Regions from separate parts of the Homo sapiens genome. Here region 1 is linked to region 2. Evidence: promoter capture Hi-C in human tissues and cell types (Jung and others, 2019). All regions are on one chromosome and are shown on one strand. Each heading gives the region's core, a stretch centred on a gene start or on the middle of the fragment in contact. The rest is flanking DNA. Distances are from core to core; before and after follow the strand shown.

The links. Contacts are between HindIII fragments. The study calls those that stand out against the background at their distance.
Region 1: a fragment that was not itself captured here is called in contact with the fragment with the promoter of NPAS1 in region 2 in 1 of the 25 tissues and cell types used here (dorsolateral prefrontal cortex).

Annotation. Positions count from the first base shown.
Region 1 is chr19:46,884,119-46,887,266 of GRCh38, forward strand. The region is part of intron 1 of ARHGAP35 (Rho GTPase activating protein 35); the gene reads left to right. Among named protein-coding and RNA genes, the nearest start is that of ARHGAP35, 25 kb to the left of the region's middle. The HindIII fragment of the contact is 4,791 bases long and covers 1-3,148 here.
Region 2 is chr19:47,018,300-47,021,146 of GRCh38, forward strand. NPAS1 (neuronal PAS domain protein 1) reads left to right here and starts at 1,538. Exons shown (of 12, transcript NM_002517.4): 1 at 1,538-1,698; 2 at 2,707-2,847. The coding sequence starts at 2,749. RefSeq lists a silencer at 1,475-1,534. The HindIII fragment of the contact is 24,576 bases long and covers 1-2,554 here.

The DNA of each region.
Region 1 (3,148 bases), core at 355-2,854, 130 kb before region 2:
AAAGAAAAATTATTCCCACCATTATTTCATAAAAAGTAGGATCTAGGCTGGCCATGGTGGCTCACATCTGTAATCCCAACACTTTTGGAAGCGAAGGCAGGAGGATTACTTGAGCCCAGGAGTTGGAGGCTACAGTAAGCAATGATTGTGCCAACTACACTCCAGCCTGGGCAACAAAAACAACAACAACAAAAAGGATCTAACTTCAGAATAAAGGATATCCCTTCCCAAGGAAACTAGCTGCCTTATAGGGACATATGTAGGTATATACTTATAATTCTCATTTTAAACATAAACTGAGGAAAACTGCCACAGGCCAGCTGTTTAACTTTTTGGGGCCTTAGTTTTCTCATCTATAAAATAATGATGATATCCTTTTTTTTTTTTTTTTTTTTTTTCCCCTTTTGAGATAGGGTCTCTTGTCCAGACTGGAGCGCAGTGGCATGCTCACAGCTCACTGCAGCCTCGACTTCCTGGGCTCAGATGATCCATCTCAGTGTCCCTAATAGCTAGGACTACAGGCATGTGCCACCATGTTGTATTTTTTTTGTAGAGATGGAGTTTTGCCATGTTGCCCCAGCTGGTCTTGAACTCCTGGGCTCAAGCAATTCCCCCGCGTAGGCCTCCCAAAGTACTAAGATTACAGGTTTAAGGGCTAGAGTGCAGTGGCATGATCATGGCTTGCTACAGCCTCGACTTTCTGGGCTCAAATGATCCTCCTGCCTCAGCTGAGACTACAGGTGCGCACCCACCATGCCTGGCTACTTTTTAAAATTTTTAGTAGACATGAGATCTTGCTATGTTGCCCAGGCTGGTCTCAAACCCCTGGCCTCAAGTGATCTTCCTGCCTTGACCTCCCAACGTGTTGGGATTATAGGCTTGAGCCACTGTGCCTGGCCCAGGGGTCTATATCTAAATCCTAAAGCTTGCGGAAGTTCTTTCAGCTGTCCCCATGGCTTTGGGCATTATGAATAATAATCCATAGGACATAATTGGAAGGTGTTTCAGCTTAGGATGGATTGGACTTTTGAAAAGCGCCCCTTCTTATAGTCAACACAACATCTCATTCCCCTGTGAACTCACCCTTAGGGAAATCATTTTACTTTTGGACAAGTGAGACCAGATCCTCAGAGATAGTTTGTGACTCTTGCAATAATAATAGCAAATATTTCCTTAATCTTTTCTATATGCCAGGCACTGTATTATGTACTTTACATGTATTAACTCAAGGAATCCACATAACAACCCAATGAAGTAGGTACTATCCTTGTACCCATTACTCAGAATAGGAAACAGGCCATGCATGCTAGGTGATGTAAGCTAAGGATTCAGAGGAAGGAGAATAATAAATTACCCCCACTTAGAAAGTACTGGTCTGGGTTTGTGTGCTCTCTCTTCTGCCCACCTCCCTCCTCTCTCTCTGGCCCTACTTGTTTTTATTAATGTGGGGTTAATGCCGGTGATTTCATATACTAACCTTGATCATTGGGAAATGTTTCTCTCACGGGAAGGTATTTGGATGGGCATAGTACATTCTTTGGTTTGTCTTCTTGATCTCTAGTTTAGCTTACTTGTTAAAGATTTCCAGAATGATCTAGCAGTTAATTCCAGTTCCATTTTCCCCTCCACCTTTTTATTTTTAGTGAGGTCCTAATTGGATTTTTTTAATCTTAATTTTTTTAATTTTTACCTTTTTAGAGATGAGTTCTCACTATGTTGCCCAGGCTGGACTCGAATTCCCAGGCTCAAGCAATCCTCCCGCCTCAGGCTCCTGAGTAGCTGGGGCTACAAGTGTGTGCCACTGCACCCAGCTATAAATAGATTTTTATAATGTGATTTTTAAATTTTAGGGTATTAAGCTTATCTTAAAGTACAATCAAAGCCTGTCACCCATTTCATTTCTCTAATGCCTCCTTGAAGTATTTTGCTTTTGACTTCGGGGAAGAGCCTTGGAGATTGGGTACTGCATGATGCTGCAGGGAGGCCAGTGGTTTATGTTGTCGTCGTCCGTCCTGGAGTGCTTGCCTTAATGCTGCTCATTTCAAATGCCTCCTCTCTGTTTCCAAGGTTGAATTAGCATCAGGTCTTCTTTTACATCAGCCTTGTCTAATATAACTTTCTGTGTTATTCATTATGGTAACCACCAGTCACGTGTTGCTACTTGAAATGTAGCTAGTGGGGCTGAGAAACTAAATTTAAAATTTTTATTATTATTAGTTTAACTTTAAATGGCCAAAGTAGTGCAGATCTAGACTATGCTCCGTAAGGGAGGTTTTTTTTTTCTTTTCTTTTTTTCCTACTTCTAATTCTGACATAGGGCTGTGCTCTTTATGTATTTGTTAAATGCTTTCACTAGCTGAAATACAAGGAAAGTTAAAGTATTCCTTAAAGTCTTCCTCCCAGGGAAAACCGTTGTTAATAGTTGTATTTTTTAACTGTAGGATAAATTGCCAGTTTTTATTATCATTACAGTGATTCACCCTTGATTCTAGGGATCGGGCGTTACTCAAGGTTGTTGTAGATTTGGGAGTTTTAGGAGATGGAGGAGGCTTAGAATGCAGGTTATAAATGTAACAGAAAGAAGTATGACTAATACTGGTAAAAGTGTCTTTATAATGATTGTTGCGATATGATTGAATTTCTATCCTAATGCTTAAGAATCCTTAGTGAAAATGTGGGAAAGAGGATGAATCACTGTTTTCTCCCTTCCCAAATCCCAGATGATTTTGCTAGAATTTTAAGGATGGATTGAGTGTTCAGGTGATTTTGTCTTGACTTCTTGGGTTGGTTGGGATCTTTAAAGAGAGAGAGATTAAAAAGGATTTACTACTAGCAAAACTGAAAAAGCAGAAACATGTCTGCTTGAATTTTGAGTTTCTTTTCTCTTTGATAGTGGAAGCAGCATCTTAGGCCAGGTTCATTTTGTAACTGGTGTGGGTGTATGTATGCATGTGTACATCCGTCTCATGTTTGTTAAATTTTCTTGACTCCCTAACAGTTGTTTGTACTCCACATCATCAGTTTTGGTACCTTCTACTCGTTACTGAAAGGATATATTTACCTTCTCAGTGGGTTGGTGAAGATGGGGGGTGGGGGAGCATATATGGAAACTGATGAAAATGATAAAACCGTGGTGCTCCAAAGTAAA
Region 2 (2,847 bases), core at 288-2,787:
ACCTGCCCAGGCTGCACAGCCAGGAAGTGCTGTCAGGAGACAGGAGCCCATGATCTGAGCTTGATTCCTTGCCCTGAAACTCTAGCAAGTCTCTCTGGGGATAAATAAGGATCTGTTGTCTGAGAGGCCACTATCACCAGGCTATATCACTTCCCCATGTCTCGGTTTCCCTAGTTGTAAAATGCATCTAGTAACAGAGCCCATCTCAGAATCTTGCTATAAAATAAAGTATTAGCAAAAAACAAGCACTCCCTTAAGTGTTAACTATGAGGATCATGAATGAGTTTGTGTGTTGTGAGCAAATGCACACGGGTGTTTGTGTGTGCCTCAGTTTCCCCATCTGCCCAACCAAAGGCCAGCGCGTGCTCCCTGCAAGCCCCTGACTGTATGCCTCTTCTAAGACTCCCTGCTCCATTTTCTTTTTCTTTTCTTTTCTTTCGAAATGGACTCTCCTTCTCTGACCCGGGCTGGAGCGCAGTGGCGGGATCTCGGCTCACTGCAACCTCCGCCTCCCAGGTTCAAGGGATTTTCCTGCCTCAGCCTCCCGAGTAGCTGGGATTACAGGCGCCCACCACCACACCCGGCTAATTTTTGTATTTTTAGTAGAGACAGGGTTTCACTATGTTGGCCAGGCTGGCCTTGAACTCCTGACCTCGGGTGATCCAACCGCCCTGGCCTCCCAAGGTGCTGGGATTATAGGTGTAAGCCACCGCGCCCGGCCCCAGCTCCATTTTCTTTCCCCATGTTAAGGTCATGTAGAGGCTTTTAAGTGCCTGGAGACCCCCATGCCAGGGAGGACCCTGAGAACGGGAAGTGGGGGCTGCATGGAGAGAAGGAGCTAGGGGAACTGTAGGACCTCCTATCAGACTGGGGAAGGCCTGGCTTGGACGCCTGGGTTCCCGTCCTCTGTGCGAGGTACTACAACCCCTGAGTTCCCATTTATGATCTAATGGGGAGCTTGGATGTAAGGGTTCCCGTCCCTGCGGCGGGGGATGGAGATAAGACGCCAGGATCCTGGTCTCTGGAGCTCCTTAGAGAGCTGGATCCTGGTCCCTGACGAGGGAGGTGTATGTCCCCCTTTTAAGGCGGGTTGGGTTTGGATGCGAAGTCCCAGCCCTGTGGGGGGAGAGTGTGCTGACACTCAGGAGTTCTCTCCCGGAAAGGGAGGGTCTCGAATTCTGGATTTGTGTCCCTGGAGGAAGCACTGACGTGAGTCTTCACTCGTACATGGGGCTCGGCTGCAGGGTACCTGTCTTGTCCCGAGGGGCTGCTGGGGCACTAACTGCCTCCTGAAGGGGTGTAGACAGTGCCCGGACTCCGCTGTTCCCCTTTTGGAGTGGGGTAGCTCCGATCCGAGGTGCTACATTCTGACCCCCGACGTTACCGTGGGGCAAGGGAACTCGGACCCCAGGGTAGCTTGGCCCCCTACCAGGGAAAGGCGAGCAGGGCGGGTCCGGGGGCGGAGACGCGGCGGGCGGGGCTCCGGCAGACCCCGCCCCCGCCCGCAGCGCTGGTCGCGCGTCTCCAAGTCTGCGAGGCCGAGGTGGGCGCCGAGAGCTGGGCGCCACAGCCCGCGCGTCCCGCTGCGCCCCGCGCGCCCCGGGGTCTATGGAGCTGCCCCTCCGCGCCGCCCGGCCGGCCCCACGCCGCGCCCGGAGCCTGCTCTGCGGCCAAGTAATCGGACTGGCGGTCCTGCGGGTAGGGGAAGCTTGCGGGCTGGCAGGAGGGGGACTTCTGGGTCCCAGAGGAATGGGGGGCTGGAACTCCAGTGTCCTGGGGGATAGGGGGTGGGACGAGGGTATCCCGAGCCTGGGGGAAGGGGCGCACGGATGTTTGAGTCCTGGAGAAATCTGGGGTTGGGAGACCTGGACACGGGGGTCTGGGGCATCTGGACACCTGGCTGGGAGGTTTGGGGGCGGCCTGGTTCCTGGGGTTAGGGGGTGTTCTGAACGCCTGGTCCTGGAGGAATGAAGACCTAACTGAAAACGTTAGGGGATCAGGAGACCAGGACACCTGGGCCCCGAGTGTCGGGTCAATCCTGGGGGCGTCCTGGGGCAGAGGCTGCGGCGGCTGCGTCCGGGGCTGGGGCTCGCGCGCCGGGGTCTTCAGGGAGGAAGTTGTGGTCGTGGGGATGTGGCGGTCCGAACACGTGGCGCCATCCCGAGAGGCTGGGGGGATCCCTGGGCAGGACACAGGATGGGGGTCCCTGCCCTCTGCCCCCTGCCTCCTTAGCCCAGCCGGGAAAACAGGGTGCAGATCCGGGGAGTCAGACACCGGGGATGGGCTTGGGGGGCGGGTCCTCGGGGCAGAGGGCTCCGGGGGCTGGGGCGTGCGTGCCTGGCCCGGGAGGCGCCCGCCCCCCGCCCGGCTTGGGCATGCTTGGCACGCAGCGCGCGGGCCGGTTCGATCCGTATGCGCGCCGCGTGCGCCCATTGGTATGCGGGAGCCGGCCCGGCGCGGGCGTGAGGCGGGCGCGCTGGCGGGCGGCGCGGGGGAGGCGGCGGCGGGGCACGTCCTCACCCGGAGCGCCAGCCCCGGGCCGGCTAGGGTGGGAGCTGAGGCCTCCAGGTAGGGGAAACTGAGGCATCATCCAGGCCCCCCCCCCCCCAGCTCCTTGCTGGGACCCTGAGCCCTGCACGGATCTCAGTTTCCCTAGAAGGTCTCCCGAGGGCACTAAGCGTTGCCCCTGGCCCCCTCCCGCTGCAGGAGACTCGGGGCTCGGAGCCCGCCTGAGCGAGCCCCCCGGAGATGGCGGCCCCCTATCCCGGCAGTGGCGGCGGAAGCGAGGTCAAATGCGTGGGAGGCCGCGGCGCCAGCGTCCCCTGGGACTTTCTACCCGGGCTGATG